3 separate regions of the Homo sapiens genome follow, and regions 2 and 3 are each linked to region 1. Evidence: promoter capture Hi-C in 16 types of primary human blood cells and fetal thymus (Javierre and others, 2016). All regions are on one chromosome and are shown on one strand. Each heading gives the region's core, a stretch centred on a gene start or on the middle of the fragment in contact. The rest is flanking DNA. Distances are from core to core; before and after follow the strand shown. Region 1 holds the start of GOT1L1 (glutamic-oxaloacetic transaminase 1 like 1). Region 2 overlaps ADGRA2 (adhesion G protein-coupled receptor A2). Region 3 overlaps PLPBP (pyridoxal phosphate binding protein).

Region 1 (3,241 bases), core at 402-2,901:
GTCTTGAAAGAGCTTTCAAATCAGCAGTGTGAGCAGGTGGGAATACCACTGGACTGAGATTCCGATCCTGACTCGATGGCTAAGGACTTGTGGACTCTCTGAGCCTCAGGTATCTCTTTTATCAATACCAGGGGGCCCTCCGAGGTCCCCTTCGGGTTTAAGGTTGTGCAGACCCAGATCGCCACTCTCTGTGTCTAAATGAGCCAGGGGAGGGCCCACCTTCTCACCCTGTTCTCCACAATGGCTTGGCTGTGCTTTCCAAAGAGGAGTGCTAGAGAGGCCTGGATGAATGATTTCAGGCCCATGGTGGGCAAGTACTCATAATTCAGGGAGGGATCCTGTGAAATCTGTAGTCGAGTCTTCTGCACCACGAGAGAAACCCAGGGATGGCCTTCATTTGTCATGCAGACTGTGAGGAAAACCACAGAGGGAGCTCCAGATGCCTGGTTTGGGCCCCCAGGGCTGAGCTCTGCAGACAGCCTGCAAACAAATCTCTCCTGGACTCCATGGGGCTGTGGGAAGGTGCCTGTGAAAATACAACTTTCCCTTTTCTTTTCTCCTTGATGAAAAGAATATGCTGTTAGTGAATGTGTATTATTTTTGTCTTTTTAAAAAAGACAACTGAAACCTATGCCATTTTAAAGGTTAAAAATTATACAAGCCCAGGATTGGTGGCTCAGGCCTGTAATCCCAGCACTTCGGGAGGCTAAGGTGGGTGGATCACTTGAGTTCAGGAGTTCAAGATCAGCCTGGGCAACATGATGAAACCCTGTCTCTACAAAAAAATACAAAACAGCCAGACATGGTGACCAGCGCCTGTAGTCCCAGCTACTCAGGAGGCTGAGGCAAGAGGATGGTTTGAGCCCAGGAGGCAAAGGTGGCAGTGAGCTGAGATCTTGCCACTGCACTTCAGCCTGGGCAACAGAGTGAGGCCCTGTCTCAAGAAAAAAAAAAAAAAAATATATATATATATATATATATATATATATATATATATATATGCAAAATGAGAGTTATAGGTAGATGAAGCTAAATAAAGGTAACCCTGACTTTCACAGTGGTGAGCCCCAGTTGCATAGCAGAAAGCTCAATCTGGAGAACCATTCTTGGTTCAAGAACAGGAAGAGAAAGAGAAAGAGAGAGAGAGGAGGTAAGAATCTGAAGAAGTGTGGGATGGCCATGCAGGCCCCCAAGCATAGAGTTGTGGAAGAGGACATAGCTCTCACCAAATCCCTAGAAGCCCCCAGAGAAGGGCAGAGAGCATGGAATGACCTGGGACCTTATCTGCACTTTTCCCCACTGGGTAATTCTGTTAACAAGAAAAGATCTCTCCACCCACAGAAGCTTGGGCTGCACCCCTCCCCCTGCAGCAGGGAACACTGTCCTCCTAGAGGCAGTTACCATCACTTAAGTCTTATACTTCAGAACTGCTAGGCATCTACCTCTATAGGCTAAGAATATCTTGTTCGGGTAATCATCTTGTTTGTAGGTCTTTAACAAGCTGCCCTCTAGCTTGTGGGCGAGGGGCACATCCATGAACACTGAAAGGGTGGGCATAACTGAAACGAAACTGGAGCCAAGACTATGTGTCTCTGCTCCTGTGTTCCGCTTCTGCCCAGAAGTCTTCCTCCAAGGCTGGGCCGGGCAGTCCTGCCTCTTCCTGGAACCTTGGCAGCCCCAGTGCAGAGGCGCTGGACAACGGGTTGCCAGGGCAACAGAACCTCATGATCTTTGTGGTGGCGATCCACAGGGGCCACAGGAACATTCCAGGGTACTTGAGGAGAATCCCCTCAGACAGCGGGCAGGGCAGGATAACAATCTCCGGAATTCCCAAGCCCGTTTCCCTCACTCAATGCCTTCTCTTCTCTAGCCCCAGGTGGCTCAGTCCAAAGTAACAAGCCCACTCCTTAGATGACAGGGCAAGGATAATGGGAGATTACTTAACAGATACAATGTACATTGTTGGGGTTATGGATACCCTAAAAGCCCTGACTTCACCACTATGCGATGTATGCATCTAACAAAATTACACTTGTACTTCACACATTTATACAAATTAAAAAAAAAAAAAAGAAAGAAAGACATAGGGCAAGGCAGGCAGCCAATAAGCCAGATAGGGCTTCTCCTGCAGAAGCAAAAACCCCAGATCACACACCAATGCAAGTCGAGGCATTGATTTCCATTTTGCAAAGTGCCCCAGATTTCAAAAGGAATAAAAAGCAAACACTGTTTTCTTCCACAGTTGTTTTAATAAAGAATCCTATTATTAGAATATAATTGGCAACTCACTAAGCCAGTCCTATTTCTCTCAGTTATCTAGAGCCAAGACTTCTACATATGTTTGTTAAGTTTCTTTTTCTTTCTTTTTTTGGTTTTTTTTTTTTTTGAGATGGAGTCTCACTTTGTCGATAGTCTCGAACTCCTTGCCTCAGGTGATCTGCCTGCCTTGGCCTCCCAAACTGCTGGGATTACAGGCATGAGCCACCACACCTGGCCATTTGTTAAGTTTCAATGACAGCCAACTAGTAAGTATAGACAGCAGAGGCCAAGGGGAGAAAAGAGCCAGCCTCTATAGAGTCAGTCTGCATATTGCTTGCTTTCTTTTCCTTTTGATGTTTAATGACTCTCTCTTTTTTTTTTTTTTTTTTTTTGAGACAGAGTCTCGCTCTTGCTGCCCACATTGGAGTGCAGTGGTGTGATCTCGGCTCACTGCAACCTCTGCTTCCCAGGTTCAAGAGATTCTCCTGCCTCAGCCTCCCGAGTAGCTGGGATTACAGGCATGCGCCACCACACCCAACTAATTTTGTATTTTTAGTAGAGAGGGGGATTTCTCCATGTTGATCAGGCTGGTCTCAAACTCCAGACCTCAGGTGATCTGCCCACCTGGGCCTCCCAAAGTGCTGGGATTACAGGCGTGAGTCACTGCGCCCGGCTTTTTTTTGTATTTTTAGTAGAGACAGGGTTTCACCACGTTGGCCAGACTGGTCTCAAACTCCTGACCTCAAGTGATCTGCCTACCTCAGCCTCCCAAAGTGTTAGGATTACAGGCATGAGCCACCACACCCAGCCTGATGTTAAATAACTCTTTAAATGATTGTTGCAAACACTGTTGATGTCTCACCCAGAAGGCCTTCACCACCAATGTGCCCGGCCCCAGCTGCTGCTTCGCTGGTGGACAAGGCTTATATGCCTGTGTTCTCTGGAGAATTGTGCTTGGCTGGCAGGAGTCAGCTAGCCTAGA
Region 2 (3,468 bases), core at 717-3,216, 130 kb before region 1:
CCACCCACCTTGGCCTCCCAAAAAGCTGGGATTATAGGCATGAGCCACCGCATCTAGCCTCTACAAAAACATTTTTTTTTTAATTAGCTGGTCATGGTGGCGCATGCCTGTAGTCCTAGCTCCTGGGGAGGCCAAGGTGAGAGGATTGCTTGAGCTCAAGAGGTGGAGGCTGCAGTGATTTGTGATCATGCCACTGTACTCCAGCCTGGGCAATAGAGCGAAACTTGTCTCTCTTAAAAAAAAAAAAAAAGACCAGACCCCTGCACTATCTGTCTAAAACTGCCTGCCCTCCTCTCCCCAGATAGACCCACCACAAGGCACCCTCTGGAGAATAGAACCAGCAACTCAATGTCAATGGAGGCCCCTCTCTGGATAATCTAGGTCTAGAGTAAACTTCCTCAGACCTCTCCAGGTTGTTAAGGCCAAAAGATCCAACCCTGGGTATCTGAGGACTCGAATCACACAGCAATCTGCCTGAGGTCTTTCCAAGAGCTAGAAATTTGGCAAGAAGGGGGCCCCTTGGAGGAGAAGGATGAAAAGGCCTTTGCCTGGTGCCTGCATCTGCGAGTGGGTCAGAGGGTGGGGCATCAGGACCATGTTCTCTGCAGCAAGAAAATATCTCATTTCAAGACTTTCAGGGCTGGAGTTGGTGCTGGGCTAGCCAAACCGGAAGCGTGGGCTGCAGCTGCCCCCCACTCAACTCAGCCCTTGCCTCCCAGCACACACAGAGGCTGCCTCAGAGAGAGAGGGGTGGGTGGAGGGAAGAGAGAGAGAGGCCGAGACCGGGACTGCATGAAGTCTGGGCTCAGGGCAGCCTGGGGAGGGATGGGAGCCGGTCCCAGAGATAAGCTATTCTGGGCCAGAGGCTTGTCCTTGCCCTCCTCTGGGGTAGGTCCCCGATCTGTCGCTCTGCTGCCGCCCTGCACACTGACACCAGTGCCCGCAGCTGGTCTGAATTTAGGTGTGTTGGCAGAGAATAGAGTAGTAGGACATTCCAGAGTCCTAAGACTTTCTACCAAAATCAAAATGAAAGTATCTCATTAATAATTTTATATTGATTACATATAAAAATAACATTTTGGATACATTGAGTTAGATCATATATATATAAAAATATATATATATACACACACACACATATATTTTTAGAAACAGGGTCTCGCTAGGCTGGGTGAGGTGGCTCACGCCTGTAATCCCAGCACTTTAGGAAGATGAGGCGGGCGGATCATGAGATCAAGAGATCGAGACCATCCTGGCCAACATGGTGAAACCCCGTTTCTACTAAAAATACAAAAATTAGCTGGGTGTGGTGGCATGCACCTGTAGTCCCAGCTACTTGGGAGGCGGCAGTAGGAGAATCGCTTGAACCCAGGAGGCGGAGGTTGCAGTGAGCTGAGAGCATGCCACTGCACTCCAGCCTGGCAACAGAGCAAGGCTCTCTCTCTCAAAAAAAAAGAAAAGAAACAGGGTCTCGCTCAGGCTGGAGTGCAGTGGTGCAATCACAGCTCACTGCAGCCTCAAACTCCTGGGCTCAAGTGATCCTCTTGCCTCGTCCTCCCAAGTAGCTAGGACTACAGGCAGGCCACCACGTCTGGCTACTTTTTAAAAAATGTTTTATAGAGACAGGGTCTTGCTATGTTGCCCAGACTGGTCTTGAACTCCTGGCTTCAAGCAATTCTCCTGACTCAGCTTTCCAAAGCACTGGGATTGCAGGCATGAGCCACTGCACCAGGCCTAAATAACATATGTTCTCAAAATGAACTTTTAGGCTGGGCGCGGTGGCCGTATCATGCCTGTAATCCCAGCACTTTGGGAGGCCGAGGCGAGTGGATCATGAGGTCAGGAGATCAAGACCATCCTGGCTAACATAGTGAAACCCCGTCTCTACTAAAAAAAAAATACAAAAAAATTAGGGTGGCGGGTGCCTGTAGTCCCGGCTACTCAAAAGGCTGAGGCAGGAGAATGGCGTGAAGCCGGGAGGCGGAGCTTGCAGTGAGCCGAGATCACGCCACTGCACTGCAGACTGGGCAACAGAGCAAGACTCTGTCTCAAAAACAAAAAAAAAAAAAAAAAAAAAGAACTTTTATACTGTGTGTGTGTGTGTGTTTTTTTTTTTTTTTTTTGAGACGGAGTTTCACTCTTGTCACCCAGGCTGGAGTGCAATAGCGCGTTCTCGGCTCACTGCAACCTCCGCCTCTTGGGTTCAAGAGATTCTCCTGCCTCAGCCTCCCAAGTGGCTGGGATTACAGGCGCCTGCCACCACGCCTGGCTAATTTTTTTGTATTTTTAGTAGAGATGGAGTTTCACCATGTTGGCCAGGCTGGTCTCCAACTCCTGACCTCAGGTGATCTGCCTGCCTCAGCCTCTCAAAGTGCTGGGATTACAGATGTAAACCACTGCACCCAGCCAACTTTTTTTTTTTTTTTTTTGGCAACAGAGTTTTTCTCTTGTTGCCCAGGCTGGAGTGCAATGGTGCAATCTCGGCTCACTGGAACCTCCGCCTCCCAGGTTCAAGTGATTCTCCTGCCTCAGCCCTCCAAGTAGCTGGGATTACAGGCATGCACCACCACGCCTGGCTAATTTTGTATTTTTGGTAGAGACGGGGTTTCGCCATGTTTGCCAGGCTGGTCTCAAACTCCTGACCACAGGTGATCTGCCCGCCTCAGCCTCCCAGAGTTCTGGGATTATAGGTGTGAGCCACCGCACCTGGCCCAACTTTTAAACTTTTTAAATGTGGCTACTAGGAAATTTAAAATGGGCTGGGTGCGGTAGTTTACACCTATAATCCCAGCACTCTGGGAGGCCGAGGCAGGCGGATCACCTGAAGTCAGGAGTTTGAGACCAACCTGGCCAACATGGTGAAACCCCGCCTCTACTAAAAAGATAAAAATTAGCCATGCATGGTGACGGGCACCTGTAATCCAGCTACTCTGGAGGCTGAGGCAGGAGAATCACTTGAACCCGAGAGGCGGAGGTTGCAGTGAGCCGACATCGTGCCATTGCACTCCAGTCTGGGCCACAGAATGAGACTCTCTTTCAGAAAAAAAAAGAAAAGAAAAGAAAATTTAAAATGACATGCACTTGCAATGGTGTTGTTGTTGTTGTTGTTGTTGTTGTTGTTGTTGTTGTCAGCTCTCTGTTAAAGAATTTGGGGTATTTGAAGTGGGTTAAAGGCTAAAGAGTTGGGAAAATGTGAGGAATCACCCCCACCAACACTACCTCTGCCCCACGCTGGGCAGAGCTCTCAAACTGAGATCTCAGGTTTTAATATTGAGGATTTGTGGCTGGGCGCGGTGGCTCACGCCTGTAATCCCAGCACTTTGGGAGCCCGAGGCGGGTGGATCACGAAGTCAGGAGATCGAGACCATCCTGGCTAACACGGTGAAACCCCGTCTCCACTAAAAATACAAAAAATTAGCCGGGCGTGGTGGCGGGCACCTGTAGTCCCAGCTACTCTGGAGGCTGAGG
Region 3 (3,045 bases), core at 546-3,045, 160 kb before region 1:
GATTTTTTCTTTTCCATGTCTCCTAGCTGTTTTCAGCTGAAATCCTGAGATGGAGGAAAGAGAATCCAACTGATAGTTCTTTTCTTGAGAAATTTAGAACCTGACCAGAAGCAGAGCAACATAGAAAACCCCAAGTATAAAGTTACTCTTTAGGACTTGAGGCTCTTTCAAGAGGTTCTCTTGTTGGGGGTCACCTCTTCTGTCGTAAGGAAGGGAGGAAAATGGAGCCTTCCTCTGGCCATTTACCCTTGCAGTATACCTGTTTTCTGTTTCTTTTCTTGAAGGTAAACATGGCCTTCCACCTTCAGAGACCATAGCCATCGTGGAGCACATAAACGCCAAGTGTCCTAACCTGGAGTTTGTGGGGCTGATGACCATAGGAAGCTTTGGGCATGATCTTAGTCAAGGACCAAATCCAGACTTCCAGGTACTGGGGGGTCGGGGAGATTGCTCGTGTGCTAAAGAAGCAGGGTGCTGGAGTGCTATTGCAGGGCTGGCTGCAGTGGGGATTGCAGAGTCATCCCAGACACTGCCTGTTGAGTGTTCTAGCCCTCTTTTGAACTCTTCTCAGAAGGAAAAGGGAAGAACAGGTTTCCAAAGCCCCACAAACCTTTTTCAACTCAACTTGAACTTGGCTAAAACATAGTCTTTAGAGAATATGAGATTTCTTCCTCTCCAGTGACTAATAGTTTTCTCGAAAGTGGGATAGTTTGCAAAAAACCCTTTCAGTAACGTCTGGCAATTTTGGCAGGCCTTGAAATCATAAGGAATACATAACCGTTGTCAGAGAAGTTCAGATTCAGACACTTTTGGGCATCGTTAGAGAAGGCAGGAGTAAAATAGGTGTCATCTCTTTCTGTCAGCTGTTATTGTCCCTCCGGGAGGAGCTGTGTAAAAAGCTGAACATCCCTGCTGACCAGGTTGAGCTGAGCATGGGCATGTCCGCGGATTTCCAGCATGCGGTGAGTGTCCTGCCAGTGCCCTGTCTGCCTCGAGGGGTGGGGGTAGGGGGTCTGAGAGGCTGACACAAGAGCAGATCTTTGCTGTAGAAGCCTTGGAAATGCCTTGGGATGGCAGTAAGGTACCCAGTGTCAGCTATTCCAGCATCTCCCATTCCCCATGCCCTTTCTTTTTTGAAAAGAGCCAGGTGCGGTGGCGCACGCCTGTAATCCCAGCACTTTGGGAGGCCGAGCCGGGCAGATCACGAGGTCAGGAGTTCGAGACCAGCCTGACCAACATGGTGAAACCCCGTCTCTCCTAAAAATACAAAAATTAGCTGGGCGTGGTGGCGCACGCCTGTAATCCCAGCTACTCAGGAGGCTGAGGCAGGAGAATCGCTTGAACCCAGGAGGCGGAGATTGCAGTGAGCCGAGGTCGCGCCACTGCACTCCAGCCTGGCTGGCAACAGAGCGAGACTCCATCTCAAAAAAAAAAAAAAAAAAAAAAAAACAAAAGAAAGAAAAGAAATGTATAGAAATTATAGCCTGACATCTGAACTTTTAAAACAAAATATAATTCCGTAAGTGTAATCTAAAGGAAATAAGAAATTAATTATAATTATAATTTCATAAATTATAAACATAATTCCATAAGTGTAGTCTAAAGGAAAATAAGAAATTAAGCTATAATTTTTGGAAAGGCATTTCATTACGTAAGTGCGTGGGCATGGCTGTATCACAGCAAATCACGATGAAGCAGCCTAAGGCTTCATGTTTGTTTGTTTTTTTTTGGAGACTGAGTCTCGCTCTATTGCCCAGGCCGGAGTGCAGTGGCGCGATCTCAGCTCACTGTAACCTCCACCTCCCAGGTTCAAGTGATTCTCCTGCTTCAGCCTCCCAAGTAGCTGGGATTACAGGCGCCTGCCACAATGCCCAGCTAATTTTTGAATTTTTAGTTAAGACAGGGTTTCACCGTATTGGCCAGGCTGGTCTCGAACTCCTGACCTCAGGTAATCCACCCACCTAGGCCTCCCAAAGTGATGGGATTACAGGCATGAGCCACTGCACCCGTCCGAGGCTTAATCTTATGTGTAGATTCACCAACAATCTTATATGTACATCAACAGCTGTAAATATCAACTGATACAGGTGTGCTAGATTGGCAACGCAAATACATGATTTTCTGAAATAGCAAATAACTTGATAAAGTTTCAAAAATCAAAATATAAACTTGCATTCCTGGAAAATTGTATTTCTTAAAACAGTGCAAAAATACATTGCATTGATAAGTAAAATGGAATTTGATCAGATAATTATAAGGATATTTTTTTCATCTACCTGACCGTGGCACATTGGAGAGGTAGGTGGGCTGTGCTGTGTGGCTGCGTCTCACACTGGACGTCTAATGTCCTTGACCCCCTCCGAGCTGAGTGCCAGCCACACTCTCCAACCACTGGAAATCCAGAGAAACCCAACTTGTTTCCTATATATGCCCTCAGAGGCAATTTTACCTCTGAGGAGAACAATCATCCTGAAGCCATCTTCAGCTGTGTTATTATTCATAGAAGGCTCTGTTTTTGTTTTTTTTTGTTTTTTTTGAGATGGAGTTTCGCTCTTGTTGCCCAGGCTGGAGTGCAATGGCGCAACCTCTGCTCACCGCAACCTCCACCTCCTGGGTTCAAGCAATTCTCCTGCTTCAGCCTCCCGAGTAGCTGGGATTACAGGCATGTGCCACTATGCCCGGCTAATTTTGTATTTTTAATAGAGACAGGGTTTCTCCATGTTGGTCAGGCTGGTCTCAAACCCCTGATCTCGTGATCTGCCCACCTCGGCCTCCCAAAATGCTGGGATTACAGGCGTGAGCCACCACGCCCCGTCCATAGAAGGCTCTTGAGAGCCAGAATGGGGGCACAGCTTCAGCACTGGCTCCATTTTATTATTTTAAACCTGGTCCTCGATACCTTCTCTTTTTTCCCACAGGTTGAAGTAGGATCTACAAATGTCCGAATAGGAAGCACGATTTTTGGAGAGCGGGATTACTCAAAGAAACCCACCCCGGACAAGTGCGCAGCAGACGTGAAGGCCCCGCTGGAGGTGGCACAGGAGC

The links. The method cuts DNA at HindIII sites, captures the fragments that hold promoters and counts their contacts. A CHiCAGO score of 5 or more calls a contact.
Region 2: a fragment that was not itself captured here is called in contact with the fragment with the promoter of GOT1L1 in region 1 in 1 of 17 cell types (neutrophils); the score reaches 5.3 in neutrophils.
Region 3: a contact is called between a fragment that was not itself captured here and the fragment with the promoter of GOT1L1 in region 1, in 1 of 17 cell types (M2 macrophages). The highest score is 5.5, in M2 macrophages.

Annotation. Positions count from the first base shown.
Region 1 is chr8:37,938,473-37,941,713 of GRCh38, forward strand. GOT1L1 (glutamic-oxaloacetic transaminase 1 like 1) reads right to left here and starts at 1,652. Exons shown (of 9, transcript NM_152413.3): 1 at 1,443-1,652; 2 at 228-409. The coding sequence starts at 1,557. RefSeq lists an enhancer at 1,158-1,674. The HindIII fragment of the contact is 5,963 bases long and covers 1,343-3,241 here.
Region 2 is chr8:37,809,064-37,812,531 of GRCh38, forward strand. The region is part of intron 1 of ADGRA2 (adhesion G protein-coupled receptor A2); the gene reads left to right. Among named protein-coding and RNA genes, the nearest start is that of ADGRA2, 14 kb to the left of the region's middle. RefSeq lists a silencer at 453-675. The HindIII fragment of the contact is 5,635 bases long and covers 1-3,468 here.
Region 3 is chr8:37,775,055-37,778,099 of GRCh38, forward strand. PLPBP (pyridoxal phosphate binding protein) reads left to right here. Exons shown (of 8, transcript NM_007198.4): 6 at 285-427; 7 at 864-962; 8 at 2,919-3,045. Among named protein-coding and RNA genes, the nearest start is that of PLPBP, 14 kb to the left of the region's middle. The HindIII fragment of the contact is 2,826 bases long and covers 383-3,045 here.